Regions from separate parts of the Homo sapiens genome. Here region 2 is linked to region 1. Evidence: promoter capture Hi-C in 16 types of primary human blood cells and fetal thymus (Javierre and others, 2016). All regions are on one chromosome and are shown on one strand. The core of a region is centred on a gene start or on the middle of the fragment in contact, and the rest is flanking DNA. Distances in the headings are between cores, read along the strand shown.

The links. The method cuts DNA at HindIII sites, captures the fragments that hold promoters and counts their contacts. A CHiCAGO score of 5 or more calls a contact.
Region 2: a contact is called between a fragment that was not itself captured here and the fragment with the promoter of OR4C15 in region 1, in 5 of 17 cell types (erythroblasts, endothelial precursors, M2 macrophages and 2 more). The highest score is 12.6, in erythroblasts.

What each region holds. Positions count from the first base shown.
Region 1 is chr11:55,551,336-55,557,486 of GRCh38, reverse strand. It overlaps OR4C15 (olfactory receptor family 4 subfamily C member 15), which reads right to left and starts at 3,018. Exons shown (of 1, transcript NM_001001920.3): 1 at 2,068-3,018. The coding sequence starts at 3,018. The coding sequence ends at 2,068. The HindIII fragment of the contact is 1,344 bases long and covers 3,007-4,350 here.
Region 2 is chr11:54,540,809-54,546,959 of GRCh38, reverse strand. No RefSeq gene overlaps it. Among named protein-coding and RNA genes, the nearest start is that of OR4C46, 60 kb to the left of the region's middle. RefSeq lists enhancers at 1-61, 1,105-1,626, 1,627-2,148. The HindIII fragment of the contact is 2,894 bases long and covers 1,051-3,944 here.

The DNA.
Region 1 (6,151 bases), core at 1,769-4,268:
TTGCATTTCCAGGGCTGAGGCAGTTTGGTTAGCGATTATCTCTAAAACTGCCTGTCATCTAATTATTCTAATTAGCATATATATGGGAGTGAGATAACACCATGAAACATCCTCAGCCCAAGTGCCAGGACAGTAATATTCAATGATTCATTATGGAGGCCATTCGTCTTCTTGCCATCTTTAGCTTCCTCCTACCTTTAAGGATCATTTTTCTTTGTTTAGGTTATTATACACAGGGACTCCCAGTGTGTTAACCGCAGTTAATGTTTTGGAGGAAGGAGTAGCCTTGGGGGTGAGCTTGACTCTGGTGTGATGGGCCCAGTGGGGGATTCCTTAGACTCTCACTGCAGTTGGTGTGCTGAGTATCACAGTGTAAGGGACCTGTCCACTTCAGTTGTAGTTTTTGGTGAGGGTCAGGTTGGCAGATAAATATGTCTGTGCCTGCAAGACATTTATGTTGAGAGGACAAGGAGGTGTCTACAGGGAGAGGTATGGCCTCATTTGCTGTTTCACTAATGAAAGACCATGTCTGGATTAAGGAGGAGAGGTAACTCCTGAGTGGCTCAGAGTCTGGTAAGGGTGAAGGCCCTAAGACTAAAGTTTGGCCACACATGATTTCAAAGGGACTATAAAAAGGGTGCTTTTGGTGTTGCATGGAGTCTCACGAGGGTAAAAGGGAACTTTTTTTTTGTCCACGACTAGCAGGTTTCTAAGGCCAGCATGGTGAGTTGGGCATTAAGGACAGAGTTGACCTTTCCAACTTTGCCTGAAGATTGAGGCCTGAAGGGTGTAGAGACGCCTTAGGTAATTTGGCTGATAAAAGGCGGGCCTGTTATTGGATTGGATGCATGTTGGGAGTTCAAAATGGGGAGTTATATGCATGATGAGAGTTTGTGTGATGACATTTGCATGTTCTGAAGTTGTTGGGAACACTTCTACCAACCCGAAGAAAGTACAGACAAAGACTAGAAGATAGTAGAACCATTTATTGGGCAGTATGTGAGTGAAGTCTACTTGCCAATCTTGCCTGGATACCAGGCCCCAGGCTTGGTGGGTAGGAAAAGGCTGTGGCTGGAGGGAACCTTGGGGTGATACTGAGTAGCAGACAGAGCAGGACTGGGTAATCTACAAACCAAGTAAAGGAGGCATCTGGAAGGTGTTGGTCTGTTATGTTTGGAAAAATGTAAGAGCAGCATTCACACCGAATTGTATAGGGTCTTGGGTGGTTGTAGCTTCAGGTAAGAGCATGGCTGGGTTTAGATGGGAGCTGGTTAGCATGGTAATGTGGGGAGTTTCTATGAATAGAGCATACAGTTGGAAGAGCTGTGGGGCAGAGATGAGACTTAGTACACAGCAGTGAGCTAACATGTCTTTGATGTTTCAGGTTGAATCGACTGTTAGGTTGGCATGGAGAGATCATTTTAGGCTTTCAAGAGTGAGGACAGCAGCTGCTGCCAAGCTCAGAGACAAGCAAGCCATCCATGAACTGCAGCTTTAAGCTGATTAGAGAGGTAGGCAACAACCTGGAAGATGGGTCCCTTAGACTGGGTTAGAACACCTACTGCAACTCCATGCTGGTTAGCGGTATAGAGGGAGAAAGGTTTGGTGAGGTCTGGGAGAGTGAGAATGGGGGCTGATGTGAGAGCCTTCTGGAGGATGGAAATGTTGGGTAATAGGCTGTGTGGGGTTTAAAGGCTCATGGAGAGGGCCTTTAGCCGCCTGGTATAACGGTTTGGCAAGTAGAGTGAAGGAGGGAACCCAGAGCCTAAAATAAACCACTAGTCCTAGAAAAGAGAGAATGTCTTGCTTAGTTTGCAGAGGTGGAAGGGAGTGGAGGTGCAATATGCAGTTGGTTGTGAGCCCTTGGAGTCACGGGGTAAGACTAGGCCTATATAGGTGACTGAGGAGGTGCATATTTGTGCTTTCTGAGGGTGGACACATAAGTTTTCTGATCCCACATTAATGATTTTTTTCTAGCATTACTTTATCTCTTGCCATGAAAGATGTATCTCATTAAGTTTTTATTTAAGGCCATTTTGACCTTTTTTACTCTTAACTTTGGATTTTTTAAAGTTTAATATTTTCTTTCTCATCAGAAACCACCATCAGTCTGTTCCATATTCTCCTCATGGCCTGTTTTACTTCCTTATTCCTGAAAGTGTAAATCAAAGGATTGAGCAAGGGATTTAAGATGATATAAAATATTGCCGCCATTTTGTCAAGGGAAAAAGCAGATGGAGGTCGTGTATATACAAATATGCATGGGACAAAGAACAAAATCACAACAGCAATGTGAGATCCACAGGTGGAGAGAGCTTTCCAGCGCCCTTCAGAACTGTGTGTTCTCAGAGAGAGCAAGATGACAGCATAGGAGACAAGCAACAAGGAGAAGTTTATGATGCAGATAAACCCACTGTTGATGACCACCATGAGGCCAAAGATGTGAGTATCAGTGCAGGCAAGCTCCAGTAACGGGTACAAGTCACACATAAAGTGATTGATGACATTGGGGCCACAAAAGGGAAGCTGGAAAGTAAAAAGAATTTGTATCATGGAATGCAAGAGGCCCCCTGTCCAGGCTACCCCCATCAGAATGCCACAGAGCCTCCTGTTCATGATAGAAGAGTAATGCAAGGGCTTGCAAATGGCCACATAACGATCATAGGCCATGGCTGTGAGGACAATCACCTCCACCCCAGCAAAGAAGTGTTCAGCAAAGAGCTGCATCATGCAGCCTTCAAAAGAGATGGTTTTTGTCACATAGAGGGAGTCTACAATCATCTTTGGGGTGATGACAGATGAGAAGCACGCATCCAGGAAGGACAGGAAGCCCAAGAAGAAGTACATAGGAGACACCAGAAGAGCAGGGCTGCTGAGAATGGTTACTACAATTAGCATGTTGCCCCCAACAGTTGCAATGTAGACAAACAAAAATACAACAAATACTATTTCCTGAACATTTGGATTCTGTGAAAGTCCCAGGAGGACAAACTCAGTTACAAAGCTTTGGTTTTGCATGTTTCCCAAGGAAAAGATGAAAGCTCCAACAGGGATCATGTATAGTCTGCAATTAGGACAAAGGAAAATTTGCTTCAGATCAATTTGTGGTATCATAGTCATTAACAAGTTGGTACATCCAAGTGCAAAATTATTGAGTGCTTCTGTTGTCATTGAGAACATAAATTAGAAATTATTGAAGGTAGTACTGAAATATCAGACAGAATTGTGATAGAGATAATTTAAAGAATACTTGAAAGAAACAAGAGGTTCAATATGGGGGAAGGATATGTGGTAGAGAAGAGAAAGAGTTTTCATATCAAGTGCCAGCTTTGATCATTTACTAGTGGCTTCCTGGAGTGAATTATTGAGAAGTATTCTGAAGTTACCTCTAAATTTTGAGAGAAGGAGCATTGTAACTTATTACTTATTTCTGCCATTGGCATCAAATGAGAGCAGGGATGACCAGCATCCCATTCCTAATCGGGAGACTGCTTTATCTGCAACTAGAAGAAAACAGCGTATAGTTCAAGAGGCACTTAAAAATTATGGCTGCTCTTCAAATATTTCTTTAAAAGTCTTAACTGAATTCATTCTTTACAAAAGAGAAAGATCTTTAGAAAAATCTCTAGCCTGACATTTAAAACATAAAAAGTATGCATTAAGTGCGGAGTGTTTTCTTAAATCTGTCATTTTAAAATGAAAACAGAAGTTTATTATTATTATAAAAGTAATAATGCCTACAACAGAATGTTGTTATGATAACTGGTGAAACAATGGAAGGCTAAGGACCGACTGCCCTAGGGAATGGTCTGCATTAGGTCTTATTATTCCTATTTGATTGGTGGGAAACTCATGCTTAAAGAAGTTAAGTTTAAGCAAATAACAGACAATCTGGGATATTAACACAAAATCTCAGGCTCCAACACCCAATTCCTTTCCACTAGATCAGCAGGGAAAGGAGTGGGGATATTCCTTTTCCAGTAAGAACTTCAAAGTAGGAATGGCCTTTCTACAAACACTTGCATGTACAAATTGGCATCAACCACATAAGTAAGGAAGAGAAACAATATATTGAATATAAACCGGAATCTTGAGGCTTTATTAATTATTTTCCAATTATTTATATAAAGTAATCAGGTCTAATGAAGTTTAATTCCTAAAAGAAGTGTATATTTCAACTTTATATGCATTATTGTGTAGCAGAGGTGTTTATATATAGCTTACCTGCTCATGTCTCAGGATTATGATGATGGTCAGATTTGAAAATGTGAAAATTTTACTTATAATAAAGTGCTCTTACCAATTGTATTTACTCACTTAAAAAGTCAGCCACCTTATCTACAAAAAGCTTTTTCATGAGTCATCTAGATAATTACTCTCCAACTTTTGACTTCATTTCCACAGGCAGACACAGCTTTAAAGGATAATTCTGTCTTCACCTATATATATATAATTGAAATGTGTTTTTCAATTACCATATATAAGTGTGTGTTTGAATATTTGTATATGTGTATATTTATATGTGTATACACCTTTGTTAAAAAATAAGTGAATAAAAAAGAATAAAGAGATTTATTTTGAGATTTAAATAAGCTGATTTTTATGAATGTCACTTGGAGTTAACAGAAACAATTTAAAATGTTAATAAAACTAACAAATATACAATTGTGTATGTTAATATATGTTCTTTTGCTTATTTTAAAACAATCATTTCCATTATGTTTTCAGTTTCATTTGTAACCAGTGTCTGCACTAGGAATTCCATATACAGTTATAAGTTATCATCAGGAAAATATGAGCTGGAACAAACCTTATAAGGTTATTAGATAAGTCAATAACCATTTATTGCAAAGGAAAGCATGTTAGTAAATGATCCAACAGTGCTCAGCTTAGCCGAGAGCCAAAGTGGGAAATACGATGAAGTGAAATGAGTAAGAACTTCAGTTCCAGACTCATATAGACGTAGGTTCAAATCCAAGCTCTCCTACTTGTTCTATGGCATGTTAGAACAAGTCACTTCAAATTCTTAACATTCTCAAAGCCTCAGCTTCCACTTCAGTAAATGGATATGATGTCTATCTATACATATCTTGTGAGTATAAGAAAGCAATACACACAAAAGCACTGATGCAGTAAGAAGCATAGAAGATCATGATGAGTGGTGAGAACAAGCCCTCAGAGCCATTGACACAGAGCAGAAATAACATTTTTACACTAATTTTTGCTTTACCAAGACCAAGGTGGTTTTACTCATCCTTTAACACATGGACACAGGAAGGGGAGCATCACACACCGGGGCCTGTTGTGGGGTGGGGGGAGTGAGGAGGGACAGCATTAGGAGATACACCTAATGTTAAATAACGAGTTAATGAGTGCAGCACACCAACATGGCACATGTATACATCTGTAACTAACCTGCACGTTGTGCACATGTACCCTAAAGCTTAAAGTATAATAATCAAAAATTTAAAAAAAAGAAAATGTGCCACATATACACTATGGAATACTATGCAGCCATAAAAAAGGATGAGTTCATGTCATTTGTAGGGACATGGATGAAACTGGAAACCATCATTCTCAGCAAACTATCACAAGGACAAAAAAACAAACACTGTATGTTCTCACTTATAGGTGGGAATTGAACAATGAGAACACTTGGACACAGGAAGTGGGACATCACACACCGGGGCCTGTTGTGAGGTGGGGGTAGGGGGGAGGTATAGCATTAGGAGATATACCTAATGTAAATGACGAGTTAATGGGTGCAGCACACCAACATGGCACATGTATACGTATGTAACAAACATGCACGTTGTGCACATGTACCCTAGAACTTAAAGTATAATAAAAAAATTTTAAAAGAGAAAAAAATAAAAATAAAAATAAATTTTGAAAAATGTTAAATATTTTATTTGGTCTGTCTCAGTGCAGACATGATATTTTAAAATGCACAACACTTTTAAATGTCTTTAGTAATCCCTGAATAAAGTACTGTGGCCCCCATTCTGTCAAATATCCACTTCTATTTCAAATAGCTTCATTGTACATAGAAAACTCCATAAAAGTTGGAGATGGAAAGAAAGACAAGGCTCTATATTAATCTAATAATTAAACAATTCTTAATCTCTCCACTTCCTTTAGCTGGGCTGTT
Region 2 (6,151 bases), core at 1,248-3,747, 1.0 Mb after region 1:
TCTGTGAGTTAAACTCAACCATCAAAAAGGATTTTCTGAGAATGCTTCTGTTTAGTTTTTATATGAAGTTATTTCCTTTACTCCCATAGGCCTCAATGCGGTCCAAATCTCCACTTGCAGATTCTACAAAAAGAGGGTTTCCAAACTGCTCTTTCAGTATGAACGTTGAACTCTGTGAGTTGAATGCAATCACCACAAAATGGTTTCTGAGAATGCTTCTATCTAGTTTTTATGTGAAGATATTTCCTTTTCCACCACAGGCCTCAAAGCCCTCCAAATGTCCACTTGCAGATTCTTGAAAAATTGTGTTTCACAGCTGCTGTTTCAAAAGGAAAGTTCAACTCCAGAATTTGAATACAAACAACAGAAATCAGTCTCTGAGAATGCTTCTGTTTAGTTTTTCTGTGAAGATGATCCAGTTTCCAAGGAAATCTTCAAAGAGATCCGCATATCCACTTGCAGATTCCACAGAAAGAGAGTTTCAAAACTACTGTACCACAAGGAGTGTTCAACTGTGTGAGTTGAACGTAGTCATCACAGAAAAGTTTCTGAGAATGCTTCTGTGTAGTTTTAATGTGAAGATATACACGTTTGGAATGAAGGCCACAAATTGGTCCAAATATCCACTTGCAGATTCTACGAAAAGAGTGTTTCAAACCTGAACTATTAAAGGAAGTTCCAACTCCGTGAGTTGAATGCAAACATCACAAAGAATTTTCTGAGAATGCTTCTGTTTATTTATGTGATATTTATCCCGTTTCCAACGAAATCCTCAGAGAGGTAAAAATGTCCACTTGCAGATTTTACAAAAAGTGTGTTTTGAAACTGCTCCATCCAAAGGAATGTTCAGCTCTGTGAGTTAAACTCAATCATCACAAAAATTTTCTGAGAATGCTTCTGTCTAGTTTTTATATGAAGTTATTTCGTTTAGTACCGTAGGCTGCAAAGCAGTCCAAATTTCCACTTGCAGATTCTTCAAAAAGAGTGTTTCAAAACTGATATATCAAAAGGAGTGTTCAACTTGTGAGATGAATGCAATCATCACAGAGAAGCTTCTGAGAATGCTTCTGTCTAGTTTTTATGTGAGGATATACCCGTTTCGAACGAAGGCCACAAAGTGGTCCAAATATCCACTTACAGATTCTACAAAAACAGTGTTTCAATCCTGAACTATCAAAGGAAATTTCAACTCTGTGTGTTGAATGCAAACTTCACAAAGATGTTTCTGAGAATGCTTCTGTTTAATTACGTCAATTTTATCCCTTTTACAATGGAATCCTCAAAGTGGTCCAAATACCCACTTGCAGATTATGCCAAACGTGTGATTTGAAACTGCTCCATCAAAAGGAATGCTCAGCTCTATGAGTTTCTGAGAATGCTTTTGTCAGGTTTTTACATGAAGTTATTTCCTATACTATCATATGCCTCAAAGCAGTCCAAATCTCCACTTGCAGATTCTACAAAAAGAGTGTTTAAAAACTGCTCTATCAACAGGAGTGTTCAACTCTGTGAGTTGAATGCAATCATCACAGAGAAGTTTCTGAGAATGCTTCTGTCTAGTTTTTTGTGAAGATATTTCCTTTTCCACCACAGGCCTCGCAGTGCTCCAAATGTCTACTTGCAGATTATACAAAAAGAGAGTTTCAAAACTGTTCTATCAAAAGAAAGTTTCAACTTTCTGAGTTGAATACGCACATCACAAAGTAGTTTCTGAGAATGCTTCTGTCTAGTTTTTATATGAAGATATTTCCTTTGCTAGCATAGGCCTCAAAGTGCTGCCAATGTCCAGTTGCAGATTCTACAAAAAGAGTGTTTAAAGACTGCTCTATCAATAGGAAGTTTCAAATCTCTGATGTGAATGCAGACATCACAAGGAAGTTTCTGATTTTTCTTCTGTCTAGTTTTTATGTGAAGGTATAGCCGTTTTGAACGAAGGCCACACAGTGGTCCAAATATCCACTTGCAGATTCTACAAAAAGAGTGTTTCAAACCTGAACTATCAAAGGAAGTTTCAACTCTGTGAGTTGAATGCAAACATCACAAATAAGTTTCTGAGAATGCTTCTGTTTAGTTCTGTGAAATATATCCCATTTCCAAAGAAATCCTCAAAGAGGTCCACATATCCAAATGCAGATCCTACAGAAAGTTTGTTTCGAAACTGCTCCATCAAAAGTAATGTTCAGCTCTGTGAGGTGAGCTCAATCATCACAAAGAAGTTTCTGGGAATGCATCTGCCTAGTTTTCATATGAAGTTATTTCCTTTACTACCATAGGCCTCAAATCGGTCCAAATATCCACTTGCAGATTCTACAAAACGAGTGTTTCAAAACTCTCTGTCAAAAGGAATGTTCAACTCTGTGAGTTCAATGCAATCATCACAAAGTAGTTTCTGAGAATGCTTCCATCTAGTTTTCATGTATAGATATTTCCTTTTCCACCACTGGCCACAAAGCCCTCCAAATGTCCACTTGCAGATTCTAGAAAAAGCGTGTTTCAAAACTACTCTATCAAAAGGAATGTTCAACACTGTGAGTTGAATGGAAACATCACAAGAAGTTTCTGAGAGTGCTTCTGTTTAATTTTTAGGTGAAGATATTCCGTTTCCAATGAAATCCTCAAAGAGGTGCAAATATCCACTTGCAAATTCTACAGAAAGAGTATTTCCAAACATCTGTTACAATAGGAATCTTCAACACTGTGAGTTGAATGCAATCATCACAAAGAAATTTCTGAGAATGCTTCTATCTAATTTTTATGGGAATATATTTCCTTTTCCACCACAGGCCTCAAAGTGCTCCAAATGTCCAATTGCAGATTCTAAGAAAAGAATGTTTCAAAACTGCTCTATGAAAAGCTGTGTTAAACTCTGTGAGTTGAATACAAACTTCACAAAGAAGTTTCTGAGAGTGCTTCTGTTTAGTTTTTATGTGAAGGTATTCCCTTTTCCATAGAAATCTTCAAAGAGGTCCAAATATACACTTGAAGATTCTGCAGAATAGTGTTTCAAACTGCTCTTCTTAAAGGAATGTTCAGCTCTATGAGTCAAATGCAATCATCTCAACGTAGTTTCTGAGAATGCTTCTCTCTAATTCTTATGTCAAGATTTTTCCTTTTCCACCACAGGCCTCAAAGCTCTCCAAATGTCCCCTAGCAGATACTACAAAAGAAAGTTTCAAAAATGCTCTATGGAAAGCAATGTTAAACTCTGTGAGCTGAACACAAACATCACAAAGTTGTTTCTGAGAATGCTTTTGTTTAGTACTTAAGTGAAGATACAACCGTTTCCTATGAAATCTTCAAAGAGGTCCAAATATCCAGTTGTAGATTCTACAAAAAGAGAGTTTCAAAACTGCTCTATCAATAGGAATGTTCAACTCTGTGAGTCGAATGCAATCATCACAGAGTAGTTTCTGTGAACGCTTCTGTCTAGTTTTTATATGAAGATATTTCCTTTTCCACCACAGGCCTCACAGCGCTCCAAATGTCTACTTGCAGATTCCACAAAAAGAGAGTTTCAAATCTGCTCTATCAAAGGAAATGTTCAACTTTCTGAGTTGAATGCACACATCACAATGAAGTTTCTGAGAATGCTTCTGTCTAGTTTTTATATGAAGATATTTACTAGCATCGACCTCAAAGCATGCCAATGTGCAATTGCAGAATATACAAAAAGAGTGTTTCAAGACTGCTATAACAAAAGGAACTTCCAACTCTCTGAGTTGAATGCAGAAATCACAAGGAAGTTTCTGAGAATGCTTCTGTCTAGTTTCTTTGTGAAGATATACCCGTTTCAAACGAAGGCCAAAAAGTGGTCCAAATATCCCCTTGCAGACTCTACGAAGAGACTGTTTCCAACCTGCACTGTCAAATTAAGTTTCAACTCTGTTCATTGAATGCAAACATCACAAATAATTTTCTGAGAATGCTTCTGTTTAGTTATGTGAAGCTTATCCCATTTCCAACGAAATCCTCAAAGAAGTCCAAATATCCACTTGCAGATTGTACAAAAAGTGTGTTTTGAAACTGCTCCATAAAAAGGAATATTCAGCTCTGTGTGTTGAACTCAATCATCACAAAGAAGTTTCAGAGAATGCTTCTGTCTAGTTTTTATATGAAGTTATTTCCTTTACTACCGTAGTCCTCAAAACAGTCCAAATGTCCACTTGCAGATTCTACAAAAAAAGTGTTAGAAAACTGCTCTATCAAAAGGAATGTTCAACTCTGTGGGTTGAATGCAATCATCACAAAGTGGTTTCTGATAATTCTTCTATCTAGTTGTTATATGAAGATATTTGCTTTTCCACCAGAGGCCTCAAAGCCCTCCAAATGTCCACTTGCAGATTCTCGAAAAAGAGTGTTTCAAAACTGCTCAATCAAAAGGAATGTTCAACCCTCAGAGTCGAATACAAACAACACTAAGCAGTTTCTGAGAATGCTTTTGTTTAGTTTTTATGTGAAGATTATCCCGTTTCCAACGAAATCTTCAAAGAGGTCCAAATATCCCCTTGCAGATTCTACAAAAAGAGTGTTTCAAAACTGTTGTTCCAAAGGGAATGTTCAACTCTGTGAGTTGAATGCAATCATCAGAGAGAATTTTCTGAGAATTATTCTGTCTAGTTTTTATGTGAGGATATTTCCTTTTCCACCACAGGCCTCAAAGCCCTCCAAATGTCCACTTGCAGACTCTAGAAAAAGAGTGTTTCAAAACTGCTCCATCAAAAGGAATGTTCAACTCTGTGAGTTGAATGCAAACATCAGATAGAAATTTCCGAGAATGCTTCTGTTTAGATTTTATGTGAAGACAATCCCGCTTCCAACGAAATCTTCAAAGACGTCCAAATATCCCCTTGCAGATTCTACAAAAACAGTGTTTCAAAACTGTTGTTCCAAACGGAATGTTCAACTCTGTGAGTTGAATGCAATCATCAGAGAGAATTTTCTGAGAATTCTTCTATCTTCTTTTTATGTGAAGATATTTCCTTTACCACCACTGGCCACACAGCACTCTTAATGTCTTCTTGCAGATTCTACAAAAAGAGTGTTTGTTTGAAACGTGAACTATCAAAGGAAGTTTCAACTCTGTGAGTTGAATGCAAACATCACAAAGAATTTTCTGAGAATGTTTCCGTTTAGTAATTTGAAGTCTATGCGTGTTCCAACGAAATACTCAAAGAGGTCCAAATATCCACTTACAGATTCTACAAAAGTGTGTTTCAAAACTATCTCATCAAGAGGAATGTTCAACTCTGTGAGTTGAATTCACCAAACACAAAGAAGTTTCTGAGAATGCATCTGTCTAGTTTTTGTATGAAGATATTTCCTTTACTACCATAGGCCTCAAATTTTTCCAAATATCCACTTGCAGATTCTATAAGCAGAGTGTTTCAAAACTGCTCTGTCAAAAGGAACCTTCAACTCTGTGAGTTGAATGCAATCATCACAAAGAAGTTGCTGAGGATCCTTCTCTGTAGTTTTTATGGGAAGATATTTCCTTTTCCACCTAAGGCCTCACTGCCCTCCAAATGTCCACTTGCAGATTCCAAAAAAATAGTGTTTCAAAACTGATCTACCAAAAGAAAGGTTCAACTCCTTGAGTTGAATGCACAGATCATGAAGAAATTTCTGAGAATGCTTCTGTCTAGTTTTAACATTAAGATATACCCGTTTCCAAAGAATTCCACATAGCAGTCAAATATCCACTAGCAGAATCTACAAAAGGGTATTTCAAAACGGCTCTATCTAAAGGAATATTCAACTATTTGGGTTGAACGCACACGTCACAAAGAAGTTTCTGAGAATGCTTCCGTCTAGTTTTTATGAGAAAATATTTCCTTTTTCAGCATAGGCCCCAAAGCGTTCCAAATATCCACTTGCAGATTCCAACAAAACAGTGTTTCAAAACCGCTCTATCAAAAGGAATGTTCAACTCTGTGGGTTGAATGCACCCATCACAACAAAGTTTCTGAGAATGCTTCTTTCTAGTTTTTTTGGGAAGATATTTACTTTTTCAACAAAGGTTTCAAAGCGTTCCAAATATCCACTCGCAGATTCCACAAAAATAGTGTTTCACAACTGCTTTACCAAAATAAAGGTTAAACTTTGTGAGTTGAAAGCACAGATCCCAAAGAAATTTCTGTCAATGCTTCTGTCT